2 separate regions of the Homo sapiens genome follow, and region 1 is linked to region 2. The links are contacts of gene promoters, found by promoter capture Hi-C in blood cells and fetal thymus (Javierre and others, 2016). All regions are on one chromosome and are shown on one strand. Each heading gives the region's core, a stretch centred on a gene start or on the middle of the fragment in contact. The rest is flanking DNA. Distances are from core to core; before and after follow the strand shown. Region 1 overlaps ZFAT (zinc finger and AT-hook domain containing). Region 2 holds the start of NDRG1 (N-myc downstream regulated 1).

Region 1 (6,988 bases), core at 396-2,895, 1.4 Mb before region 2:
CAGAAATACACTAAAGCAACGCAGACCAACAGCTGTCAACCCGGATGTGCGGTGGTGATGGGCATTGCTATTTCTCCCCAGTACTCTAGAAAATGGGAGAGGATTTTGCTCCTTTTACTTTTGATGTGGAAATGACCACAGAGACTTGGTTACTTAGAGGCATCACTTGAGAGCTGTGGGTAGGCGGCTCTTCAGGGCCACCTCGTCAGTTTGCAAATGGGGAGCTGTCGTGTCCAGGGTCTGCAGCGGGACAGGGGGTGTTCCTGTACCCTCAGCGCTTCCCACACATCTGCTCTCGGGGTGGGGGGCTGTTCCTGTTTATGTAAAATGATTTGTGGTGCTTTCCTGAGGGCCACATTTTAAAGCTATGATTATTGTGTTAAATGTGAATGTATTCCATTGCCCAGGGGCTCTCATTTTGAGAGTGCTTAAAAATAACTTAAAAGAATTTATGCCAAGTTTCAACATGGAAGAGATGTGTATGCATAAAATTATAATGCAACTGTTGGCCCAGCCCTAATTATAGCTGATGCTGAGTATTTCTCATTTTATTTTGTTAATCCAGCTTCAGCAAAGAAACACCCACGGGATTTCTCTCTTGCCTTTAATAAACACGTTAACTGTGTGAGCTATGGGAGTTGGCATGTTCATCAGCATTTTATGAGATGCATGATAATCATTTCACAAATTAGTGGTGTGCATTTATTGGAGCTTCAGCCCACTGAGCATCAGAGCTGGAAGGGAGGCACCTTGGAGATGATTTATGGGCAGGGGAGCAGCAGGAGGCAGGAGGGTTGGTTCATATTGTGTCCCTGCAGGGTGGAGGGGAGGTGGGTGCTGGTGGGTCTGCCCCACACCCTTGCTTTGGTTGAAGATGCTGTCTCTGTCTCTCTGCACGTTAGCCTCTGCATAGGGCTTGAAGACTAGGTTCCACTTTCAAACACTCCAAGGCCACTATTAATTTGGGCTGCTCTTCTTTCAGAAGAGACAATGAGGGATAAAGAAATTCAGAGACGTATGCAGAATCCATCCATTGGAAGTGTGAGAGCCACTTAGGAGCTGGGAGGCCTGGGCTTCTGACAAGGTGGGTACCCCTCATGATGCTTCATGTAGAATGGTGCCTCTGAGGGGCCAGGCACTAAGCTAGGCACATCGTCTTCGTGATGTCCTGCCGTCCTCTCTGCAGCCCTGTGCAGAAGGAAACTGAAGCTCAGAGAGGCCAAGTGTGTGTGCGCAGGGTCACACAGCTACGAGGGCCAAAATAGTGTTCCGATCTATGTTGTTTTAAATGAGAGGTTCACTTGTGAATCAGAATATCGTTTTTTTTCCCTATATCTTTTCCTTTAAAATTTGCTGTTCACATTTTCTTAGATTAACGTGTAACATACATGTAGAGAAATATGCATAGGATAAACAGCTTAGTGAATGTTCGCAAACTGAACTCACTGCATAACCAGTGAGTAACCAGTATCACATCTGGAAGCAGAACTCCCCTGCACCCCAGAAGTCTCTGGTCCCAGCCCCCAACCCAGGATAACCAGGACTCAGGGCAGGGTGGTTGTGCCTTCCTTGTAGCCATGTCAGTGGAAGCATGCCACCTGGACCCTGGGTTAGGCTTATTCCTCTCCGTGTCATTTCTGTCACATAGAAATGTGGGCATACACGGGAAAGCCCCATAAGAGTTGAAAATAACTTACTCAGGTTGAGAATTGGCCAGGTGGCGGCCAATCTGTGGTCAGAGTTGGTCTGAGTTACCTGCTGGGGCTGGCCAGGGCACCTGAGCTGTCAGGGCAGCTGCACCCCCTCTGGGGACCAGCAGCAGCAGTGACTCCACCTAGGAAGGGCAGCGGGGTCTGGTCCTGGGCCAAGGATGTGTGTTTGGGTTGTAGCCCTGCTGTGTGCCCACCTGCTGTATCACCTTGTAATCCCCTACCTGGCCCACTTAACTCGTCTTAAGATGGGAACAGCAGCCCCTCACTTACTGGGTTAATGTGAAGGTTAAGTGGGGTGACGGGGAAGGCACCAGCCAAGAGTTAGGCAATCAGTAAATACTAGCCATGTTTTTTAAAATTATGGCCTAGTCAGATGTAGTGCCCTGGTGGGCCACTGGAGGGTGATGTTAGCACGTATATGTCGCCCTCCCGTTGATGAAGGTCTGTGCTTTCTGCTTGACAGTAACTCCCGGTGTTGTTTTGCTAAAAGACTGTCTGCCTCTTACCTGGTGGTCTGCTGTTCCCTGGTTCTGGACCTGCTGCCAACCTGTGCAGTGGGCATGCTCATTAAGTATGTGGTTTGGGGTGGGTTGGTATCACTTATATCTGGCATACTGTTATTTTCCAGCTGTTGCTCCCCGAAATGAATTGCTGTAGTAAATTATAACAAACACAGCAGAGTCCCCTTCTCCACGTAGCTACTTTTCTTAGTTGTAATTAATCATTTGAAATGTCCCTCTAACCATGACGCTGGCTGTGGGCTGGGGAGACCAAGACTTGCATTCCTCACAGTATTGCTCACTGTGAGCATTACAGGAAATAACAAGCGATTTCCTGTAGCAGGGCTAGGTACCAGGTGGGTGGGCAGATGTGGTGGTCGACTTGGTGGGTCTTGGTTAAGTTCTGGCTTTTTAATTTATCTGACTGGGGGCTCTTTGGCAGCTCACTAACCTGAGCCCCAGGTTTCTCCTCTGTAAAAAGGGGATGGTGACGGTGGTGGTGGTGATGGGGATGACACCATGTACTGGGCTGTTTCACAGGACAGCAGGGAGGGTCCAGTGTGGTCACTAATAGGAACGTCTGTGTGACCAACAGGAGGCAGCGTAAACACCTCCTTGCAGCTAGTGGCTGGGGCAGGGGAGGGTGGGGGTGCCACTTTGTGCCATGAAGTCTTGATGTCTTCCTCTCCTTCCCATGGCTGACACGTGGAAACTCCTAGAACACCAGCTCTGGGAGCTCCTGTGCCTTTTCCTGGCTGGCCTCCTCTAATCCTGGTGGGCTGTCTGCTCACCTGGGCACTCCTCGCACCCAGCCCCCACATTTGCAGTTCTGGAATCTGGCACTTTGAGGTTAGGCTGCCCACACCTGCCACACTTACCAAGTTTCTCGTTGCAATGAATGAAACTTTTGTGCCAAGAATGCCTTTTCCCCACGTAATCTAAATCTATCTTGCTACTGGTTAAACTAGTTTCCTGTCTTCTTTTATTTTTTGGGTCATTTTATCAATCAAACATACCTTTATTACATAAAGGAAGGGAGAAGTGTAAGACATATCCCTACCCTGTCCAGTCAAACATCTAATCAACGTCAAGGAGAAATACCAGGAACCCAGCAGCTGTGTCTAGAGCTGGCGTGTCCCTATGGTGTGGGCAGCCCTGGCCTTGATCTCGGTCTTGAATGAGTGTTTGGTCCTGACCAAGACAAGTTGACGTGTCTGAGGCCCAAGCTGTCTGGGGATCAGTAAGTCTTCCTCCTGTAAGATGGAGATCTTATTATTTTGTCACTTGCTATCGCTTTATTTCTAACACCCATGTAAGTGTTTTTTTAAATTTAATTTTTCTTGGATTACACATGTAATTCCTGTTGTGTAAGATGTGAAAAACTCAGAGAAAATCTCCAAACTGGAAAAATCACACTAATTGTCATCCACTTACCCAAGCCAGGCACTGGTATGGGGTGTTAGGGAGCTGGGTGGATGGGCAGAAGGTGCTGGGTCGTCTCCTCTGTCCCTTTCAATGTCCCTGTACTCTCTCTTTCTCGTGGTCTGTGTGTCTCTGTTTTTTTCAGACCAGTTTCCTTGGCTTTTCCCCTGTAAGTTAACAGCTTTCCCCTAGTCACCCAAGTGGAAAGCTTTTTATCAGAAGTTGCAAATTGGCAACCCGTAGGCCAGACCTAACCTGCAGATTTGCTTAGTTTGGTCTGCAGGGGCTGCAGAGGTTTTTTTCTTTTCTTTTTTTTCTTTCCCAGAAAAATCTTATTTGATGGCCAGTGCTTAAAAATCAGGGGATTCCAACTACAAATTCAATATTTGGGCCTCCATTGACTAGACCTGGGAGGCAGCTACCCCATCAGACAGAGCAGGCTTTCTAAGTGCCCCACCCCCTGTCTCCAGACCTCCAGGATGGGCCTCCTGCTTGCGGGGCAGGAGCTTCTTGCATCCATTTCCTGTCCAGGTACCGGTCTGTGGCGGGGGGCTCTTGGTGGAGCCGCCACAGCTCTCAGTGTGCCTGCCCTGCCTTTAACCTGTCCTCTTTCCACACTCAAGGCTCTTCCAACAGGCAAGGCTCTTGGTTCTGCCCCCACTGGCTGTGTGGCTTCCACTCCCTTCTCCTTTCCTTCCTCCAGCTGTCTGGCCACCTCCTGGAGCAGTTCAACTTCCCCTTTTCTGACAAACCTCTTCCAGGTGCTCCAGCCACAGGGATCTCTGCCTTCTCCACACGTGCTTCTGTGGCCTGTGGTTAGTATGTTCATATGTAGATGCGCACACATACAACCTGCTTTCCTACCTAATTTTTAAGCTCCTTGCGATTCATCAAGTAGCTGTGGAACCATACAGGCCTGTATTTGATTCTTAGGCAAGTTATAGCTTTCTCATCTGTAACGTGGGATAATCATATCTTTGTGTCTGACACATTAGCAGAGCTACTGTGTACAGCTGTGCAGGTTACACACTGCACAAAGGAGCCACTTCTTCTTTTGTTTTTGTATCCTCCATGCCCCCAAGGGAGCCACTTCTAAGGGGGCTCATTTCACATAGTGAATTTGTATGTTTATTATGAGTTTTCTACAAATGGCTGCAAAGCGTATTATTCCAACAAACTCAATATGTTATGACCATTTTCTGACAGGGGGTGCTAGTGTCTTAAGGAAGGGTGCGTTTGTCCATTTCTCACAGAGGTGCCTTAAGGGCTAGCAGCAACCCAGCTTGTCCAGATCAAATGTGAGAGGGAGTACGAAAGCCTCTGGTACTCAGGAAATGTTTATCTCCTCTCCCTTGAAAGTAGGGTTGTTGTGCTGCCATAGAAGTGAGCTCAGAAGCCAGGCTTACAGCCTGAGTGTGTACGGTGTGCAGAGTGGGGAAAAAGGGCCTTACAGGGGAGGGAGCCGAGGTTGGGAGCCAGGCTCTCTCCCCAGCTAACATCCAGCCTGCCCAGTTATATGGAAATGTTTCTGAACTTCATTGATTCAAAGACTTTTTAATTTAATTTAATTTAATTTTATTTTATTTTTGAGATGGAGTTTCACTCTGTCACCCACAATGGAGTGCAATGGCACAATCTCTGCTCACTGCAACCTCCGCCTTCCAGGCTCAAGCGATCCTCTCACCTCAGCCTCCCCAGTAGCTGTGACCACAGGCAGGCGCCACCACACCCGGCTAATTTTTTGTATTTTTGATAGAGACAGGTTTCGCCATGTCCCTTAGGTGGTCTCGAACTCCTGAGCTCAAGCGATCTGCCTGCCTCAGCCTCCCAAAGTGCTGGGATTATAGGCATGAGCCACCGTGCCCGGCCAGACTTAGATTTTAGCATCTCTAAGATCAGGAGGCAGCTTACAGTTGGTGTGGTGAGAAGCTAGTGTCTCTGAGTTTATTTGGCAGCGTTTTTATCTTTTTTAGTGGTATGTAAAATATCCGTGCTCCCTAAAGTAGATGCTGTCTTAGATTTGAGGAAATACAATAATAAAACCTATTTCACAGGATTGTTGTGAGAATTAAATAAGCCTCGTATGAGCCTCTGCTGGTGCCAGCTCATGGTGAGGGTTTAATTTAACCTCCCTTCTCATCGGCTTCTTCCTCTTTCAATGCCATTGTTTTGGTTACAGCAAGTTTTCCCTAAGTATAATGACGGTAATGAAGTTGATGACATAGTTTATTCACAGCTGATTAAAAGTTCTGCAAGATGAGCTAAATGGAAGGAAAATGTTTGTTCTAACCTGAGTCTCTTCCTGAATATATAAAAAAGATATTTTAAACTGTACTCAGCTGCACATATGAGACTTTATTGATTCCGCTGGATGTGACAGCAATCTGGCTTTATGTTGTTAAAATATTTCCATTCCTATTGGGAAGCTACTGGCCCTTATTAAATTAATAACTTAAGGGCAAATGAAAAACAAGAAAACAAAAGTATAACTCAGAAAGAATTTGCCACCCTACTCCTCTCCTCATAAGATAGATAATTTAATAGGATCTTAGTTTTGGTGGTTGTACTCTCTCTAAAGTTAATAAATACAAGTAAAAGATAGTTACAAAGCAGGGAGGATGATTTATACTAATCAAGGAGAAGAAGTAAGAGATGTTTAATCTAGAGCTTTTAAACAGAGTAATGTACTAGTCTCATAATGTAGCATTTTGTCTTCTTGAGGGCATTGATAAATGGTTAATCATTTTGTAATAATCAGATCATCTAGCACTTATGGAGTGCCTACTGTGTCAGCAGCATCATCGCTAAGGGGAAGCTGGCATTGGGCTGGTGAGGCTGTCACTGCAGGTAATGAGTACAGGTGGTATGAAAGGCAGTGGGCAAAGGTGTGGCAGAAGCCAGCCCTTCAGACCCTGCCTCTCCCCACCAGCTGGTGTAGAGGGTACTGGGCAGAGGTGTGGGGTCCACAGCCAGCCCTTCAGACCCCAAACCTCCCCACCAGCTGGTATAGAAGGTACTGGGCAAAGGTGTGGGGTCCATAGCCAGCCTTTCAGATCCCAAACTTCCCTCCCAGCAGAGATGGGCACATTCACTGGGCTGCATTCTGTGTGTGCCTCTGGGAGCTGCCTCCTTCTACCTTTCTGAGCCTTACATATCTTCCAGGGTAGTTGGGACTGACTGGGCTCATGGATAAGCCACCTAGCAGTGTACATGATCTTCTCAAAATTATTGTTTGTTCCAGAAGATCCAGAGTCTTTTTGTTTGCCACAGTTATTTTTTTAAATGTGTATTTTGAAATAATTATAGATTCACAGGAAGTTGTAAAGATAATACAGAAGTCTCACATACCTTTTA
Region 2 (7,199 bases), core at 2,650-5,149:
TGCTGGAGGAGAGAGGGGGTCCCGAGGGAGCCCAGGACTGGAGGTGGGAAGACACTTTTACGGACACTTTTTCATTTTGACAGACAGAAAAGATGATGGTCTGCAGCAGTAGACCCATAAATTGTGATTGAAAGGTCTGATGGTTTCTCTCACTCGTTTCCTCCATGCACAGAGAGGTGGAGTAATTTGCCCCAGGTACTACAGCTCATAAGTGGTGAAGTTGGAGCTGGGGGCCACAGACCACCGGGTTCTTCTCCATGAATCCCTGCTGCATCTTGGTCTCTCCCAACCCCGAGTACCCATGAGTTTTAAGAAAGACAGTTGGGAACAGGTGATTCCTATGGTCATTTTTGGAACATTTGGTTAGAATATTCTAGTATAAAATCTAAGTTGTTGTTAAGTAGAAATTTCCAGTGGACATTAGTCCAGAAAATCCAATCTCATCCTGTGACGGATTTGCAGCGCGTGTGCATTTACTAAGCAAATCTGATTCTACTGCTGACCAGCGAGAAAGAGGAATAATGTAAACAGTCAGTGCAATTGCACCCACATTCAGCTCCGTGAGCTTCTGCCACCTCAGCTGGCTGCGGTGGGGGATGTGGAGGTGCATGCAGCTCCCAGGTCCCAGTGAGGGGCCTCTGTATAGGGTGGGCGTCCTCTATGCTTTATGTGCATCCAGGCCTGTACTAAAGACAGTCTTTCTCCTGCAGCGTGACACTTAGCTAAGAAAACTACTTCATCTGGTGCTCAGCGGAAGAAAACATCCTTTTCAACAGGGAAGGAAAATTGGCTGTGTTGGGCTGAGGGAGGGGAGTGTGGAATCCAAATGGTGTCTTCCTCAGGCCTTCTCCAAGGTGATGTGGACTCTGATTTTAGAATGCCATCACTTGGAAAATTGTGTTCCATTGCTCAAATTCTTGCCTCCCTTCTCTGCTCTTTTCTCTTCACTCCACTCTCCTTCCTCTGTCTTCTGACCTATTCAATGCTAATGGTCTTCCAGAAGGTTAGGCTTCCCACACAAGCCCAGCCTCCTGCCAGGCAACCTCCTCGGGGTTTCAAGCTGCAAATCTGGGCTGCTCTTCGCATTCTGTCCTGAGGACCTCCTCAAAGAGACAGGCAAGGGCCTCCCCTGGCAAAATGCCCTTCTAATTCCATGCACTAGTTCCATTTGTTACTGAAGAAGTGGGCCGCCTTCCCTGCGCCTTTGAACTTGACATTCCTTATCTTGACACTCCGCACTTTTGAACTTGACACTCTTGTATCTTTAGCAGGTAAAAAACCAAAGGTGCTCACTCAATAAATCGCCGCAATGGGGAGCCTATGGGAAAATGGGTATGTGTAAGCTGGCTAAAGGATAACAGGCACACAGGCTGCTTGATCTGGGAGGGTCTTTAGACAGCAGGATGGCTCCCAGAGATGCACTTTTGTTGTTGCTGTTGTTCATGATCATGTCCCCAGGGTCTAGAATGGTGCCTGGGCATAGTAGGTCCTTAATATAGTTAGGGAATGAATGAGTTCATCTCAACCACGCTGTATGGATGGAGAAACTGCGTCTTGGGGCTGTACCATGCTATGCACCTGTAGAAAATGTTTTTGCCTTTTCAGTCCTTTCCCAGTGGCGGAGTACAGGACCCAGCTCATAAGAGCAGCTCAATTCTGTCATTTGTGGAATGACAGAATAAATAAGTTTCAGGGCCTAGGGAGGCAAGGCTCCTGCCTTAGCCTCCCAAGTAGCTGGAACTACAGCTGCATGCCACTAAGCCCACCTGATTTTTTATTTTCTTGTAGAGATGATGTCTCATTATGTTGCTCAGACTTTTCTGGAACTCCTGGGCTCAAGCAATCCTCCCACCTCTGCCTCTGAAGTAGCTGGGACTACAGGTACTTGCCACCAGGCCTGGCTAGCTTTCATCTTTTTTGTAGAGATGGGACATCACTATGTTGTGAAGGCTGGTCTCAAACTCCTGGACTCAAGAGAGGCTTCTGCATTGGCCTCCCAAAGTGCTGGGATTACAGGTGTAAGCCACTCTACCTGGACACAACATTTTATTTGAAATAAGAAAAATTTTCCCTCACTGGGAATGCTGCAGTTGAACTAGTTCAAATCCATAAAGAATGGAAGACTGCCCAGTGGTCATTCATTCACTTATTAATTCTAGATGTTAAATTTTCTAGGGTGGGGGAATGTGCTCCTACATTCAAGGCATTCTTGAATGTAGCCAAACTTTGTAGTTTAGCCAAACTTCATAGCTAATAGCCAAACTTTGTAGTTTAGCCAAACTCTTCTAGCAGCAAAACCCATGACACTGGAACTCTGTTCTTCACACTGGTCATTTGTAATAGAATAACAGAGCTTTAGCACTAGATAGGTTCTGAAAGATCATTGAATCTAATCCTCTCCCTTTGCCAGTGAGAATTCTGAAGCCCAGATTTGTTGATTTGTGATCGATAGTGTCAAAGACAGGCCTGAAACACAGATGTCCTGGGTCCTAGAGGTGCTGTTTGCCCCTCTCCATATTTCTTTTGTTCCAGAAAACCCTTCTCCAAAACTGGCCCTAATAATCAGAGGGGAAAGCCATGGCCCCTGCCTTGGGGACAGCATGGGTTGGCACAGAAAAGAGGTTTACAATTCAGCAGGAAGTGTTGTGCGTGCGCGCGTGTGTGTCTGTGGAGGCGCAGGGAGGGTCACCTGAGCTTGCCCTGGGTCTGGTCCTGGGCTCAGTGGCAAATTCAACGCTGGGCAGGTGGCCTGAGGACAATGACGGTGCCAGCTGTGAGTCAGACTTCCTTTATTCATAAAATCATGTTCCTCCATGCAGTGCTTCTCAACCTGGCTGCACGTCAGGAGCCACCTGGGTAGCTTTGTAAAAACCCCAATGCCCAGTTGGTTTGCACCCCCTGAGATTCTGATTAAACTGTTCTGGAGTCCATCTCTCTCTTTTTATTATCTATCTATTTATTTATTTTTTAATTTGGCGGCTCCTCTGGGACTTCTCATATGCAGTAGGGGTTGAGAATTGCTGGTTTCTTTGGCCAGATGGGAACATGCAGGCCAATAGTTACGCACAAACAGAGCAGCAGAGCAGGACGGTGCTAAGGTTGGAAAGGGTGAGTCATGAAAGTTCAGGAAATCAGAATAGGAAGGGGTGAGAATCCTCTCATCTGGGCTTGTGGGGCAGGAGAGAAGAGCCCAGTGGGCAAGGTCCAGTGAGTGTGCTTAGAACTGGGAAGATGAGGGGAAGGGTAAGCGCTGGGCGGCGGTGGGCAAGATGGACGAGATTAAACGGGAGCGAGGATTTCAGCGAGAGCTTTGGCGACACGGAAGGCTGAGAATCGGAGGGAGCCTGTCGGGCGAAAGCGAAGGCGGCTGCTGGGCAGGCAGCCGAATCCGGCTGGAGAGCCGAGCTGGTGAGACCTACAGGAAGTGAAGGGAGTCGCTCAGGGCGTGGCGCAACGAGACTCTTAGAAGAAACTCTGAGGCAGAGATGGGGGGCCTCCGCCCATACGGAGACACAAGGAAGTCCACATGCACACGCACGAGCGCGCACATGAACACGCACAAGCACACAAACGCCTCCTCCGGGCAGGGCACACGCGCCCGCTGCACAGGCCGAGGCCCTGGACTCGGAGGGGACTGCAGAGCCGACCCACAACCCGGGCCCCGATGCCCCTCCCGGCCGCGCCCCTACGACTGCTTGCGCAACAGGCGGCGGCTCCAGTGGGCGCCCGCCGCGCGCTGCCGGAGCCCAGCCCAGCCCGGCGCGCCCGGGAGGAGGGAGCAGGGAGCGGGGAAGGGGTGTGTCCCGGCTGCGTGCTGGGACTGCGAGGGTCTGGGAGGGGCGAGGCGCGGGGGCGGGGCCGCGGCGCCTATAAAGTCGCCCTCCGCCCGGACGTAAACAAACCTCGCCTGGCTCCCAGCTGGTGCTGAAGCTCGTCAGTTCACCATCCGCCCTCGGCTTCCGCGGGGCGCTGGGCCGCCAGCCTCGGCACCGTCCTTTCCTTTCTCCCTCGCGTTAGGTAAGCCCGCGCCCTCTTCTCCCAGGCGCGACGCGGAGCAGAAAGGGGCCGCCCGTGCGGTGCCGCTGGAGCGCCAGGACCGCCCTTTGTAGCCCCGCGTACTCCAGGAGTAAGCGCCCCGGAGCTGCAAGTGCGCGGTCACCCCGGGGCGCGGGCGCGAGGGGGCTTTGGGTGCAGACACCGCTGAAGTGGGGGGTTCAATTACGGAAAGGGAGGAAAAAAAGACAGGGTCCCATTCATCTCCCCCCTAGCTGGGGATTGGGGTTCTGGAGGTCGGGAAGGGGGCGATGAGACGGTCCGAAAAAATACCAGGATAGCGTTTCCTGGCGTCGTCTCCGAATCCCAGCTGGCGCCGCTGGCAGGGGTGCGCGCTGGACGTGGGTGCAGAAGGGACTAGGTGAGTGTGTGTGTGTGTGTGTGTGTGTGTGTGTGTGTGTGTCTGTGTCTGGGAACGGAGAGATTGCGCGCGAGTGTGTAGATGAGGGGTTGGTAGAGGTGAGTGGCGCTGGCAAGGAGGCTGGAGAGGGGGGCGTGGGTGTGTCTGGCTTGCAGACTGGGTCGGGAACGGGTGTGGATCCGAGAGGCTGGTGGCGCTTCAGTCCCGTAGCACACACAGGGCGGTGTGCATGTGTGAGTGTAAGCGTGTGTGTGGGGGGAGGGTCCAGGGTGTGTCACAGTGCAACACGCGAGCCGGAGCAAGTGTCTGCGAGCGCCACTGGGCAGGGTGCGCCCCCGGAGGAACCCGGGATTGGCGCATCGGCGGCGTGGGAGAAGTGACCTGGGCGAGAGGGGTCTCGCGGACATTTGGCGGCCCCTTGAGCTGGCTGGAGCTAGGAGTGGCGTCATTTTCGCCTCCGCCCACCCTCCCCCGCTTTCCTCCCCTCCCCTGCCTCTGGTGCTGGCCGCTCCTGCCCTCCACGGGGGAAAACAGCTGGAATTACTTCGACGTTCCTGGGGGATCCGCCGCGGTCTCTGATTCAGCCTCGGGAGGAGATTTCGGGCTGGGCTTGGGGAATGCGGCTGGTTCTGGGGGAAACACGCTGTCACGCCTCTGTCAAATTAGTAGCTGGAGCTGGGATTTAGTGGGTCGGTTCCTTACCCACCCCTCCCCCATATCCCCCGCCTGTTGTCCCTGCTGTCCCTGGGGGTCCTGAACAGCACGCCTCTGTGGCTTGGAAGTGGGAGATGCCTGGCAGTGGGTGGGGGAGGCAGGGCCCTTGGTTATCTTATGCCCATCCAAGAACACCCCTTCCTCACGGACGCTGGGGGCACTTCAGTTTGTTTGGTTTCTTTAAGCTACTGGGAAATATCTAATATTCAGAAGTCAGCCAGTGGCCAGGCAGGAGGGCGGTAGACATCCTTATAATACCCATCAGCTGCACGGGACCTTCTCCTAAGCTGCCTCAAAAGAACATATCTAAATACAAACCCCCTGTTCTTGCTGCAGAAATGTAGTTTCAAGGCGAATTTTTCAGTCTAGACTCTTCCTGTTGAGAAATTCTGGCGTTCTTATTGAGTTTCACAAATGTGATTGAAATAAGCAAGGTACAGAGGGGGCAAACCCCAGCGCCTTTCTTGGAAGGGCTGCCTTCTGGTGGGGAAGACACACGGCTGGAGACGCAGACCGGTTCTGTGTGGTGTGTGTGGCGGCAGAGCCAGCCCCAGGCTGGGGTGGCACAGTGTCGGGGATGAAGGAAGGTGTAAGGGAGAGAGAGGGTTTTGGTGTGGATGGAAAACTGGGTGTTCCCCTGACCTGTGACTTCTTAGCTTTGTGGGACCGTGTCTCCCACTGCATCTGGGCAAGGAGGAGGATTTGCCTGCCCTGCCCTGTAACCTGGCCCCTGGCCCAGCGCCTGGCAGGTGGGAGGAGTTGAAATATGCACATGGGATGAAGTGGATGGCTCTGGGTCTTCTGCCCCATTCTCCTGTGAACCAGCAGGTTGAGTTTCGGGCGAGGTAATAGACTGTGCATGGGTGGAGGTGTTGGCTTTTGCTTTTGAGGGATCCTGGAGTGTCTGTTTGGGTCTCTTGTGAGGAAGTTCTTTTGGAGCAACAAAGTTTGATCATTTGGAATGGAATAAAAAACTCACACAGGACCTACCTAGTCCAACTTCTTTCCATTTTACAGATGGAAAATGAGGCACAGGGATGGGGAGGGATGTGCCCAGGCCGAACTGAGCTGGAGCTCAGCTTTGTGAGAGGCTCCTGGGTGGGACTGAAGGCAGTGGAAAGGGTTCCTGGCAGGATTTTGCCTGCCTGCTATGGAGGGGCGAAAGGAAATTGCATCTTCATTGAATTTCTGGTGAGGAAACTTTTGAGGCCAAAGGGGCAGAGCGGAATGATTTTTTTTAAGTGTAAATCAGGTGTTCTTGAGAGATTAGCAAAGCCAGCCTGAAGGGCAGGGGCTTAGAGGCTGCAGCCCCCTGAGTTGGCCTTTGACTGAATGGGGCTGCCCCCCCCCCATGACAGAAGACAGATCTCAACTGAGCTGAGGGCCCCCCTGGGTTACGTTGAAATCCGCTGGCCTGAACTTGCCTCCTCATGGACCTGAAAGAAAGATAGCATTGTGTTTTTCGGGTGGCCCAAAGCTGCAGTTCTTCCTTGGGACCCAACCCCAGAGAATCCCATTCCAGATGTGACTCAGAGGCCTTGTCCTGGGAGAGAAAGCGTGATGACTCAGCATCTGAGACTCAAGCAGGGTTCAGGTTTGACTCAGCCTGGAAGGAAGGCCAGGGAGGGACACGACATCTCTCTCCCTCCAGAGCAGCCACTGTCTCCCTCCATCTGCCTTCATCCTCGCAAGAACGTTGCCTGGATCGTATTGCTCCATTGAATGGATGAGGCAACTGAGGCCAGGAGAGTTTCAGGATTTGCCTGTTGCCATATGGCTCAGGTGGGAGAGCCAGACTTTGAACCCGGACAGTTGGACTTCAGAGCCTTTGTTTTTTTTCCATGACAACATGTTGGGGCGCCTGAAGAAATCAGGCTCAAATGAAAAGGCAGTCAGGAGCTCCATGCCTCAGTTTGCTTTTCTGTAAAATGAGAGTAACAGACATGATGCCATCAGAATGTGTAAATATTAATCTGTGTAACCTGAGAACAGCACTGAGCATGTGGAAAACAGCGTGTAGGTGTTTGCCGTCAGTAGCACCCGCAGAAGACATTCTCAAGGCATCTTCTTG

The links. Contacts are between HindIII fragments. The CHiCAGO score rates a contact against its expected background, and 5 or more counts as called.
Region 1: a contact is called between a fragment that was not itself captured here and the fragment with the promoter of NDRG1 in region 2, in 1 of 17 cell types (fetal thymus). The highest score is 5.7, in fetal thymus.

What each region holds. Positions count from the first base shown.
Region 1 is chr8:134,680,889-134,687,876 of GRCh38, reverse strand. The region is part of intron 1 of ZFAT (zinc finger and AT-hook domain containing); the gene reads left to right. Among named protein-coding and RNA genes, the nearest start is that of ZFAT, 29 kb to the left of the region's middle. RefSeq lists a silencer at 1,066-1,232 and enhancers at 1,312-1,811, 1,812-2,313, 4,073-4,162, 4,793-4,942. The HindIII fragment of the contact is 4,398 bases long and covers 1-3,844 here.
Region 2 is chr8:133,293,952-133,301,150 of GRCh38, reverse strand. It overlaps NDRG1 (N-myc downstream regulated 1), which reads left to right and starts at 3,899. Exons shown (of 16, transcript NM_006096.4): 1 at 3,899-4,017. RefSeq lists a silencer at 3,569-4,018 and an enhancer at 6,215-7,199. The HindIII fragment of the contact is 9,218 bases long and covers 1-7,199 here.